Regions from separate parts of the Homo sapiens genome. Here regions 2, 3 and 4 are each linked to region 1. Evidence: promoter capture Hi-C in 16 types of primary human blood cells and fetal thymus (Javierre and others, 2016). All regions are on one chromosome and are shown on one strand. Each heading gives the region's core, a stretch centred on a gene start or on the middle of the fragment in contact. The rest is flanking DNA. Distances are from core to core; before and after follow the strand shown.

Region 1 (3,005 bases), core at 238-2,737:
TAAAAAGTCTAACCTTTCCAAAACTCATCTGGGCTTTACCATTAAATCTGCGTCATAATTCTAGAGTTTGTCTTTCTTCTCTTTTTGAATAAAAGGTTTCAAAGTACAGCCTATTCGCTGGATCATGAGAATATGTTACTAAGAAGAATCACTTCATCCATGGGAAGCTGCAGTCAGCATTTTAAAGCAACACTGCCACCAGAAGACAAGAAAGAAAAGTAACTACTAACGACTACGGGGCAAGTTAAATACAAAATATTTACCTGGCCTCCCAACGCGGCTACATTACACCCTGCCTACCACCAACTCTTCAGAAAGGCTCATTCTTTCTCGCACCTCATCTTTGTAACTTTTTCCCCCCCAGCATTAGCCTATCTACTAAGACACATCAACCTAAAATCGTATCCTAATGTCCTATCTGTTGGTCTGGGTAGTGTTTACACAGGTGAACACAAATGTCGAAGTCTTTCACTGATTTTTTTTTCAAAATAAGTGATCAACATTGTGTCCTAGTAACTCCGCAACGTGTCACGGAATCGCTGAATTTGTCATTGTCCACAAGTGTAGAAAAATGTGGTCACAAGTCAGTCCTCGGCTCGCGTACGAAGAGGCGGTCTGCCCAGTGGGGACGCGGGACCCCCCTGTTTCCCCTATTTTTATTTATTTTTTACTTTTTTTGAGACAGAGTCTCACTCTGTCGCCCAGGCTGGAGTGCAGTGGCTCGATCTCGGCTCACTGCAACCTCTGCCTGCTAGATTCAAGCGATTCTCCTGCCTCAGCCTCCTGGGTAGCTGGGATTACAGGCGCCCGCCACCACGCCCGGCTAATTTTTGTATTTTTAGTAGAGACGGGGTTGCACCATGTTGGTCAGGCTGGTCTCGAACTCCTGACCTCGTGATCCGCCCGCCTGTGCTTCCCAAAGTGTGTTTCCCCTCTTAAGCAGTGGTTCGGACGGGAGCTTTCCCGGCCCGGCGCTCGCGTCCGGGATTAAAGGGCTGCCGCGGAGGGCGTGACCAGCCCAGCCTCGCCGCCGTCGCTTACCCGGTAGTTGCTCGAACCCACCCAGCCGGTGAGCGCGTCGACTGTCTTGCCTAGGCGGCCCAGGTCCTCCTCCAGGTCCGAGATGGCGCCGGGGGCGCCAAGGTAGAGCAGGAGCTCCTGGCCGACCTGCAGCCGGCCGCCGACGTCCTTCTGCTGCACCTGGGCGCAGAAGTACTCCATGCTGCGGGGCTCCATGGCTGCGGCCGCCCGCCCGCCTGCCAGTCTGTGAGCGGCCAACTTTCGCCGAGAGCCGCCCAGCCTCCAGTGCGGGTCCCCGCGGGAGCGGGCGGGACTCACTTAGCCCGCCAGGGGCGCGGCTTGCGGGGCGCAGCGGGCGGCGGGAGGAACGCCAAGCGCCCAGCCGCCCCCAAACTAGTCAAACTCGGCGCCCCCCGATCCCCAGCCCGCTTCAGAGGCCGCGGCCGCGGGCGACGTCAGCACGCGCGTGACGTCAGCACGACGCCGGCGAGGGCCCTCCAGTCCGGCTAGCGTTTTGCTGCGGAGGTGGTGGAGGTGGCTGCGGAAACCGCTGGGAGCGATAGGACCTCTAGGGAGACTTGGGGTCCGAGTTGGGCCGAGCCCCCTGGGAGGCGGGCCGTTCTTTGCTAGCCGCTGTCAGGGCACCCTGCCCTCGCCCTGTGAAATGTGGAACGTTTCCAAGTTTGCCTCCACTTGTATTCAACACTTAGGAAAGTACTTGGCATCCCCCTTTCCCGCCCCCACTGCCGGTTTAAAAAAAAAAAAAAAAAAGAATACACTCCTGACTTCTGCTTCCAGCCACCACCACAGTCACTGTGTAATACTTAAAAAAACAAAACAAAACAAAACTTAGGTTTGCCTAAAGTAAAACGCACAGATTTTCAGCGTACACTTCATGAGTTTCGGCAAATGTATTCACCCGTGGAACCGCCACCCCAGTGAGGGTACAGCACGTTTCCAACACCCCAGGAAGTCCCAGGACACTTCCCAATTATCTGCTCTTCCCTAGGCAATTCTAATTTGATTTCTAGCATGGTAACATAGTTTTCCCTGTTCCTGAACTTCATACAGTCTGTGCTTCTTTGGAGTCTGGTTTCTTTTAGCATAACGTTTGGGGTCCATCCAGCGCTGTTGGTGTCTCAGAAGTCCATTCCTTTTTATTGCTTTCCATTCTGTGGAATCACTACCATTTGTCGATCCATTCACTTGTTGGTAGATATTTGGGTTGTTTCCTATTTTTTATAATTATGAATAAAGCTGCTACAACGGTTAGTGCACAAGTTTTTGTGTGGATATATTTTCTTCTCTCATGGGTAAATAAATACCAAGGACTGGCATTACTAGGTCTTGTAAGTTGTATGTTTAACTTTAGAAGAACCTGCCAAATTGTTTACCAAAGTGACTGGATCATATTAAATCCCCACCAGCAATGCTTGAGAGTTCCAGTTGCTCCACAATATTTGATATGGTCAGGGTTATTAGTTTTAGCCATTCTGGTGGGGGTAAAGTTGTCTAATACATTCCAAAAGCACACTGTGTTTATCTTCTTGACAATTATTCCCAATCACAACAAAATGATTATTTATGTAATATCTTTCTCTTCTAATACACAGAAAGCTCCAGGAACCTTTGTGTTTTCCTAGGGTGGTGCCTAGCAAATAATGGGTGGCCAATTTAAGTTAAATGAGTGAATGAATTCAACAAAAATTGATATTTGAAATATTCACAATAACTAAGAATAAACAAACTCAAAATTCAAAGAAATTGACTGTTTTCTGTGTTCTTTTTTCAGTATTTCTGTGTTTCACATTGTATTGAGTTTGTAAAGTTTCTTCCATCTTTAATTGGTTGTAATTTCCCTCAGACTATGCCTCAATCAAGTAAACTATGTGTGATGGTTAATTTTATGTGTCAACTTGACTGGGGCAAGAGATGCCCAAATAGCTGGCAAAACATTATTTCTGAGTGTGTCTGTGAGAGAGTTT
Region 2 (3,005 bases), core at 309-2,808, 310 kb before region 1:
ACTGAGGGCAGAAATTAAGTCTCACCAATGGCTACAGGGGCTTAAAACGCTTGTCTGACATCCATCAAAAGCAATGGATACATGGAAAATAATCTCAACTACCCAATTATGTATCTCCTTAAAAAAGAAAAATGATTGCAGACTTATTACTTCTATTATCAGTCAGCTTTCAAAAAAGAAATCTAATTTAGCTGGAGAGCTTTGAATAAACTTATTGCATGGCATAGCAACTTTGCTATAAATTACATTTTACACAACAATGCCCATTCTTTTAAAATTAGGGCCTTTTAAGCCAGGTGTGATGGCACACACACACCTGTGGTCCAACTACTCAGAAGTCTGAGGCAGGAGGACTGCTTGAGGAGATTGAGGTCAGCCTTGGCAATACAGTGAAAGCCCATCTCAAAAAAATAAATAAATAACTAAAAAACTAGACCCTTGTTTTTCTTTCCACCTTACAAAGTATCACCTCCTCAGTTTACACTGTTTGATGAACCCAAGACCCTGTGAGCTGACTAGCAAATCTAATCATGGGTATCACACACTGTCACCTCACCTCTACTATCTGAAAGATTTTCCTGCTACAACATCCCCCTGCACATATAAAACATAACACAGCATAACATACATGTATAAATAATGTAAACCATTTAATATTAAAAGTATCAAGTCTCTCTAAACTTTTTGTAATTATTGCCAGCCATTTGAAGAAATGAAGCCATCAAAAAGCTTCAAGTTAGCATGGCAGAGTAATGTAGAAACACCAAGTTTACCAAAACTCCATAAATACCCATTTTGCTTTTAGATATTTAGATTCTTCTAACATTCGAAAAGCAAGCGATGGTGCAGTGCCTATGCTCCTGAATTCATAACGGCGCTAGCAATGCCTGGCCTGGGCTCATAGTTATGGTTTCGGTACACTGTGAACACAGTCCCTCCCCAGGTAAAGAATGATCACCCATTTTAGGCTGTAGAAATTGGCAGTCATCATTTGAGCCAATCATATACAGCTCAGAGATGAAGACCAACAGACACACTAAGAGTTTTGTTGTACGGCATCTCCTGGTAACCAACAGTAGTGACTATTCAGTGTGGCACCATTTCATTCGGCATCTTTTCGACTCTAACAGTAAGTCTGGATATCCCTTTTTACTGAAAGCCAATTGTAACTAGCCAAAAACTCTATGAAATGTTGGCCTTCCTTTGTAGGAGTTTGAAGAAACATATGAAATTCTGCAAACTTTCCTTTTTAAGTGACAATCTGTACCCTGCATTTTTAAAAACAGGTTTTCAAGATGAGCTCTAACCACCCCTAAAAGCATCTGAACAAAATCAAATACAGCCAGGGCAGTAAGCAATACATGAGGAAGATGTGAAATCCCAGGCCAGTGAACTGCTGACGTTTTGCATACTTTAGACTTAAGAATCATTAAGAATTTACCAACAGTTTTCCCATCTTCAGATTACCTCTGGGCTATAATGAATTTCTTTTATTTAGGAATTACCAGAACCTACTTCTTTATTAGTTAAATGGTTTATAACAGGAGAGGAAAAGTGAGTTGCCAGAATCCCCCCCAAAGAAGTTTACTAAGAACCATTGGTGGGTCTTCAGCTGAGAAATCAGAAGAGGATAAAAACAAAATTGCTGGGGCGGGTGTTTTAGGAAAGAATATACAGCTGTTTTAACAATCTTTGATTCGAATTTATTTAAAAAAAAAAAAAAAAGCCCAGTTAAAGAAAATGTAACGTGTGCTTCCAGTGGCACTAGGATGAGTACAATTTCAGTTTCATTGCATAGAGAAGCATTAAAACATTTTTATTCGATACTATAATTGGAAATGAGTTTCTTGTGATAGTGCTTGTGACAGTAACATTCAAAGTCTACATTTAACCACAGCAATTGCGATATGTGTAAGAATGAAAAATCCTCTGGTACTTTAATAGTGCAAAGACTGCAACAGTGAATACAGCAGTCACGAATACATATGATGACAATTATTTTAAATGATTCTTTAATGTTCTGTGTTTATATTTACTGAAGGTATGTAGCTGATCTAAGTTTGCAAAGCAGGATCATCGTTTGTGGACTAATAGATGAAGAGTCATGTCATAAAATAAAGATTTGCTATACTTAACTGGACAAAGCACATATTCAACCAGATGCCCCCTGACTGCATATTGGGGGCGGCCCAGGTCTAGGTGTAGCAAGGTACACTACTTTGGCCTGAAGCATTAATTCACAATGCAACTGCCAAGAAGAAACATGAATCCCATCAGAGTTTTTTTTTTTCTACCAGTGCTGCCAAACAGGCTCTTAGAAGCATAGACAGACACACATTTTTATACTACATGCAGAAAAATGTAACAAAGAACTGCACGTGTTAATGTCAAGCTTGCTGCCATCATCTAACTGTCCACAAAATTTTATCAAGTATACACATGAGAAAGCAAGACCCTTTTCAGTTACACAAAAATAATAGCTAATTTACTAAAGAAAGTATTTTCAATTAATTTCAGTGCTCTTGAAGGAGGTGTGTGTGTGAAGGAGAGAGGGAGGGAAGGAGGAAGGGAAGGAGTCAGGGAGGGAATACATATCTCTGAGTGTCTTTTTTTCCCTCCAAAACCACCCAATATGGTCAACATTGTTTTTTGCTTTGTTTTAAAGTGTTAGATTTAGGAAATTTTCCTCAGTGAGGAACAAACAGAAGCAGGAAGTCTAAACAAAAGCAAATTAAATCAAGACATGGACATCAAAAACAATTTTGGCTTTACTTTGCGGTGGAAGTTGGTCCTATATCTAACACTGCACAAGGTTTCTTGCACAATGAAAAGAGAAGCAGAAGTCCCTTACACTGCCTCGCTTTGCCAGAGAATCACCGTAGTCTGCTGGCAAAGTCCGCTTGCTGGACTTTTTCTGCTCATGTTCAACTGCATCTTCAATTATAGGCTCAAGCCTCATCTGGACAAACACCAAAGATTGGGATCAATGTCTTTTCATTATACAA
Region 3 (3,005 bases), core at 311-2,810, 290 kb before region 1:
AAAGACTAGAAAAAATCAAGAAATAAATGAACACAATTCCAGAACCAAGAAAATACTCAACATTAATACTGCAGTAAGCAGAATAAAGGACAAGAAAATCACCTGCCCTTACATTGATTATATTCAAGTGAGGTATCACCTGAGAAAGAGGCACAAGGGAGCCTGCTGGAGTACTGGAAAAGATGGAAATAGGTAGTAGTTTCAAGGGAATATATATGTAAAAATTCATTAAGATTTGTGCACATTACTGTAATACTTCAAAAAAATTTTGTTAAAACCTAAGCTTTCCAAATGGACACTGAGCAAGGTAATTAACTGCTCTAAGTTTAATCTATAAATGAATAAATCTCTCCTAGAGTTACTGTGAGAACTGAATAAGGTTAACACATGTATTTAGTACAATGCTAGATGCACAGTATCAATTAATGTCAGTCTACTATATCACTACTACAGATGGTGGATTATGACTTTTATCGATATGAAATATCTTTATCTGGTTTAAGAACAACCATGATAAATTATGGGCATTCCCCCAGGCCAATAAATGCACATCCTACATGTTGCTTTAAACAGGGTGTATATGTGTACTAATTCATTCCATGGTATGTATGTAACAGAACTTAATCGACTATTCCACAAGTAAGGAAAATTCAGGTTATTTCCTTTTTTATCTTTAGAAATAAAGTTACAGTGAATATCCTTGCCCCTACATTGTTTCTTCTGTTATTTTTATGTCTACAACAGATTACCAAATAAGTTATTAAGGTTCTTTCAAATATAAAACTTAACTCTCAAATAAGTGATTGCCTATCCAAACACTAAATATAAAAACAAACAGGGAATTGTCACAAGTGCCAGAGACAGGACTACCTGAAGGTAAAACCTTATAGATTCTAAACTTATATATCAAATGAAAAGGTAGAAATAAGTTATTCTTCCACATTTCAGATTAATCACATGTAAAAGTCTAAAATCTATTGCTCTTTCCAAAACTTCGAGTAAAAATTCTATTTAATGACAGAAAAATAAACACTATATACTCAAGTGAACAGATGTATAATTCTAATTTTTTGAAAGAAAATGTATATACATTCAAGAAACAGACCAAAAATATTAGTCAATTTTTGGCATTATCCCTTCACATATTTCCCAGTTTTTCTACAATGAGCATATAACAGTAAAAATGTTCAAAAAATTGTTTAAAATCAGAATTCAACCTGCTTTCAGTATATGTATCCAACAAATTAATTCCTGCATTCAAAATACTTTTGTTTACAGGGGTAAGTCACATCAGCCTGTGCCCAAACTGCAAAGGGCAAACTCTCCTCTTTCCAAAGATAAACTCGGCCGGGTGCAATGGCTCACGCCTGTAATCCCAGCACTTTGGGATGCCGAGGCAGGCGGATCACTTAAGGTCAGGAGTCTGAGACTAGCCTGGCCAACATGGTGAAACCCTGTCTACTAAAATTACACAAAATTAGCTGGGTGTGATGGTGTGTGCCTGTAATCCCAGCTACTTGGGAGGCTGAGGCACGAGAATTGCTTTAACCTGGGGGGCGGAGGTTGCAGTGTGCCGAGATTGCGCCACTGCACTCCAGCCTGGGCGATAGAGCAAAACTCAGTCTCAAAAAAAAAAAGGTAAACTACCCCCACATCTCTATTTTCCCTCCTTCCCCACCAACCCTTTCATATCACTGAAATGTAACACTCTGACATAAACTACAAACAAGATATAGGGGATAAAATTTGATGTTTATTTAGCCACAGACTCCATCCTGGTGCAGCTTAAGTCTATTTTCAGCACAGAACTGCTTCATGTTCAAAATCCAGGTTCCTTGCTAGCTGGACTTCTGATTCATTCTCAAGTTCCATATTGAAATCACTGTCCCTAAAAATAACTGACTTCCTTTCCTACTTGCTAGTCCTTTGGATTATGTCTTAAAAATCCTGTAATAAATCTTCCTCCTCAGACCCTCTTTAATGCAAATCAGTTTACACAAACTGTACTTCAGCTGCTCACAGTAAAATTCCTACAATTTTCATTAAGTTGTAAAATTTAAGAAAAAGAACCTAATTTTTAATTATTACCAATAATCTAGGCTACAATGCCAAAATATTATTTTGTATTTCTGTAAATTCTTACATGTCAAATGTGACATAACCACACTAACCTTGGTTCAAATAAGTAAGCGTTTCATCATGCAGTTTTACTGCTGGTGACGTTGCAGCACACATCACATACTGAAAGGGTGGGTGCTCTGTTTCACCATCCAATGGAAGGCTGGAATCTTCCTGCTTGAAAATGGGCAATGCCAAGACATCACTGAAAAGCAAAAAATCAACACTGACCTTACTTTGGGTTTGAAATATTTGTCTACAGCCATATCATCCTGAATGCACCCAATCTTGTCTGAAATATTTAAAAGCATATAAACATTTAGGGATAGTTTTTTTTTTAAGATCAGAAATTATATGTAGAATAAAAGAACTATGAATGCTATGTGGTTCATCTAAAGGATGGCATTAACAACCCCTATCTCGGGGTGGGAAGTGGGGGAGGGCGGCAGGGCAGCTCTGAATATATATATATATATATATATATATATATATATATATATATAGCACTTTAAAAACTTCTTTTAAAACTTTAAGGTCCAGATTCTTTCTATAAAAAAAAAGCAAGTCAAGAGTACCTAGCTACTTGATTTGAAAGGCAAGAAATAATACTGCTGCCAAAGGTAGGTCACACTTGACACCATAGAATTACAAAGAAGCATCTGATTAAAATGGGGTTTTACAAAAAGTTCCCTGCTGTGCCTTGGCAAGTGTTAAGAACATGAAGCTTCATGCCTAATCTAAAACAATGGCTCCTACTGAGAGGTAAACAGGAGCAGCAGCAGTCGCAGCAGCTGCTATTCTCCCCCTAAGAATAACCTGGGGCACTGATTGGGAGAATGATGAGGGGTCTTCTGGGACACTGTTTTTATTGGATGTTGTTTGGTTTT
Region 4 (3,005 bases), core at 378-2,877, 270 kb before region 1:
CGGGGTTCGCACCATTCTTCTGCCTCAGCCTCCCGAGTAGCTGGGACTACAGACGGCCGCCACCACACCAGGCTAATTTTTTGTATTTTTAATAGAGACAGGGTTTCACTGTGTTAGCCAGGATGGTCTCGATCTCCTGACCTCGTGATCTGCCTGCCTCAGCCTCCCAAAGTGCTGGAATTACAGGCATGAGCCACCGCTCCTGGCCAAAAAAATTTTTTTAATTAGCCAGACATGGTGACCTGCACCTGTGGTCCCAGCTACTCCAGAGGCTGAGGTGGGAGGATCACTTGAGACCAGGAGGTCAAGGCTTGCAGTGAGCCATGATAATGCCACTCTAGCCTGGGTGACAGATGAGACCCTGTCTGGAAAAAAAATAGAAGTATCAAGCAGCGCTAAATAGTAATGTCATAAAGAGACCAAAATATAAAAGAAGGATAGTGTTAAAAGAAAACTTTAGACAAATTAAATATAAGAGTTTAATTTTGCAAAAAAAAGATTTGTCAATCAGGTAGCCACCCCGAACCAGAATATGTTCAGAGAGACTCCAACACTGTTGCATGGTGGAAGAAGATTTATGGACAGAAAAAGGACAGTGATGTACGGAAAACAGAAGTGAGATATAAAAACAGCTTGATTGGTTGAGTGTATTATTTGAACAGTTGGCCTCCTGTAATTAGCCAAAACTCAGCGATTGTTATAATAGGTTATAGACCATTTATACATCCAGTTAGGTTACAATTTACTGTGTACAGAGAAACCTTTAGGCTGAACTTATAAGGAGGCAACTTTAGGCTAAACTCAATTTAACAATTTCTCCCCTTTTGTTCAACCTCTCAACTTGACCAAAATAGAGAGGTTGACCAAAATCCTAGACATTGACATTACTTTCTGACCATTGTAAATGTACTTATCTGGTCGCAAATCCCATTGGGAAATAGTACAACAGTGGGTTTTGTAAGGTGCGAATAAGGACTTTAGGTTATTTTCTGGTAAGCGTTAGAGTAGAGGATACTTTTTTTTTATTATGTTGGAATTTTTATTTATTTAAATTTTATGGACATTTTATGGATGATTGTATGTAAACATTTAAAACTTTTGAAAGTCCTTAGTGCACATAGGAGACTACTATTAAGATTACCAAGAGGATAATACCAAGACTTTGGAGTATGCCCCTTAGCCAGGGTCAACATGAACTAAACTAACTAAAATCAAATAGATCAAAGAAAGAGCTAGATAAAAGATCAAGCTGTTTTAACCAAGCAGCTTGTTTATTAATCCCCTGTAACTGAATCTCTATAATACCTGATATGTTCATCTCTGTGCAACAAGAAGTGTGAGCAACTGCAGATACTTCTCTGTATCTGCATACAGAGATACATACTTCTCTGTATGCAGATACAGAGAAGTATCTGCATACAGAGATACATACTTCTCTGTATCTCAGTAAGTAATATACAGCAATTCCGTTATCTAGCACAACTTTAGCAAGAGAACTTAAAGTCTGTTGTGCCATGGCCTTTGCAGTAGAGTCAGCTATAGAGTCTACTATGAGGGATAAATTTCCTTTTTCTTTCTTTTTTTTTTTTTTACTTGTTGAGACGGAGTCTTGCTCTGTCACCCAGGCTGGAGTGCAGTGGAGCGATCTCGGCTCACTGCAAGCTCCACCTACCGGGTTCATGCCTTTCTCCTGCCTCAACCTCCCGAGTAGCTGGGACTACAGGTGCCCGCCAGCACACCCAGCTAATTTTTTTCTGTTTTTAGTAGAGACGGGGTTTCACCATGTTAGCCAGGATGGTCTCGATCTTCTGACCTTGTGATCCGCCCACCTCAGCCTCCCAAAGTGCTGGGATTACAGGCGTGAGCCATCATGCCCGGCCTTTTTTTTTTTTGAGATGGAGTTTTGCTCTTGTTGCCCAAGCTGGAGTGCAATGGTGTAATCTTGGCTCACTGCAACCTCTGCCTTCCAGGTTCAAGTGATTCTCCTGCCTCAGCCTCCTGAGTTTTTGGGATTACAGGCACCCGCCACCATGCCCAGCTAATTTTTTGTATATTTTTTTTCAGTAGAGATGGGGTTTCACCATGTTGGCCAGGCTGGTCTTGAACTCCTGACCTCAGGAGATCCACCCACCTCGGCCTCCCAAAGTGCTGGGATTACAGGTGTGAGCCACCGCGCCCGGCCATGAGGGATAAATTTCTTTTTTTTTCCTTTTTTTTTTTTTGAGAGAGTCTCACTCTGTTGCCAGGCGGGAGTGCAGTGGCACAATCTCGGCTCACTGCAACCTCCACCTCCTGGGTTCAAGTGATTCTCCTGCCTCAGCCTCCTGAGTAGCTGGGATTACAGACGTGCACCTCTATGCCCAGGTTTTTTTGTTTTTTTGTGTGTGTGTGTGTTTTTAGTAGAGACAGGGTTTTACCATTTTGGCCAGGCTGGTCTCGAACTCCTAACCATGTGATCCACACGCCTCAGCCTCCCAAAGTGTTGGATTACAGGTGTGAGCCACCATGCCTGGCCATGAGGGATAAATTTCTAATCATTGCTTCATTTATTCTAAATTATGGAAAAAGAGACAATAAATGATGTCTGTATCTACAAGACTGAAGGCCTCCTGGCAATGTTTTTTTTTAAATTTATGATATTGGTTAAGAGGAGTGGACTAAAGTTTTTGACTGATTATGAGGTAATAAAGGTATTAACATCAGTTATCTATATTGGGGTTTTTTAATTGTTTAATTTTTTTTTTTTGAGACAGAGTCTTGCTCTGTTGCCAGGCTGGAGTGCAGTGGTGCGATCTCGGCTCACTGCAACCTCCTCCTCCTGGGTTCAAGTGATGCCCCTGCCTCAGCCTCCTGAGTAGCTGGGACTATAGGTGCCCGCCATCATGCCTGGTTAATTTTTTTGTATTTTAGTAGAGACGGGGTTTCACCATATTGGCCAGAATGGTCTCGACCTCCTAACCTCGTGATCTGCCTGCCTTGGCCTCCCAAAGTGCTGGGATTACAGG

The links. The method cuts DNA at HindIII sites, captures the fragments that hold promoters and counts their contacts. A CHiCAGO score of 5 or more calls a contact.
Region 2: a fragment that was not itself captured here is called in contact with the fragment with the promoter of CLASP2 in region 1 in 3 of 17 cell types (non-activated CD4 T cells, naive CD4 T cells and activated CD4 T cells); the score reaches 6.7 in non-activated CD4 T cells.
Region 3: a fragment that was not itself captured here is called in contact with the fragment with the promoter of CLASP2 in region 1 in 6 of 17 cell types (naive CD8 T cells, total CD8 T cells, activated CD4 T cells and 3 more); the score reaches 6.3 in naive CD8 T cells.
Region 4: a fragment that was not itself captured here is called in contact with the fragment with the promoter of CLASP2 in region 1 in 2 of 17 cell types (non-activated CD4 T cells and naive CD8 T cells); the score reaches 5.4 in non-activated CD4 T cells.

What each region holds. Positions count from the first base shown.
Region 1 is chr3:33,716,767-33,719,771 of GRCh38, forward strand. CLASP2 (cytoplasmic linker associated protein 2) reads right to left here and starts at 1,488. Exons shown (of 39, transcript NM_001365631.1): 1 at 1,042-1,488. The coding sequence starts at 1,236. RefSeq lists a silencer at 1,220-1,559 and an enhancer at 1,760-1,849. The HindIII fragment of the contact is 12,344 bases long and covers 1-3,005 here.
Region 2 is chr3:33,405,839-33,408,843 of GRCh38, forward strand. UBP1 (upstream binding protein 1) reads right to left here. Exons shown (of 16, transcript NM_014517.5): 8 at 2,852-2,959. It also overlaps a transcript of FBXL2 not described here. Among named protein-coding and RNA genes, the nearest start is that of UBP1, 33 kb to the right of the region's middle. The HindIII fragment of the contact is 1,663 bases long and covers 728-2,390 here.
Region 3 is chr3:33,423,419-33,426,423 of GRCh38, forward strand. UBP1 (upstream binding protein 1) reads right to left here. Exons shown (of 16, transcript NM_014517.5): 2 at 2,172-2,323. Among named protein-coding and RNA genes, the nearest start is that of UBP1, 15 kb to the right of the region's middle. RefSeq lists an enhancer at 2,677-3,005. The HindIII fragment of the contact is 2,559 bases long and covers 282-2,840 here.
Region 4 is chr3:33,442,864-33,445,868 of GRCh38, forward strand. No RefSeq gene overlaps it. Among named protein-coding and RNA genes, the nearest start is that of UBP1, 4.0 kb to the left of the region's middle. The HindIII fragment of the contact is 4,305 bases long and covers 1-3,005 here.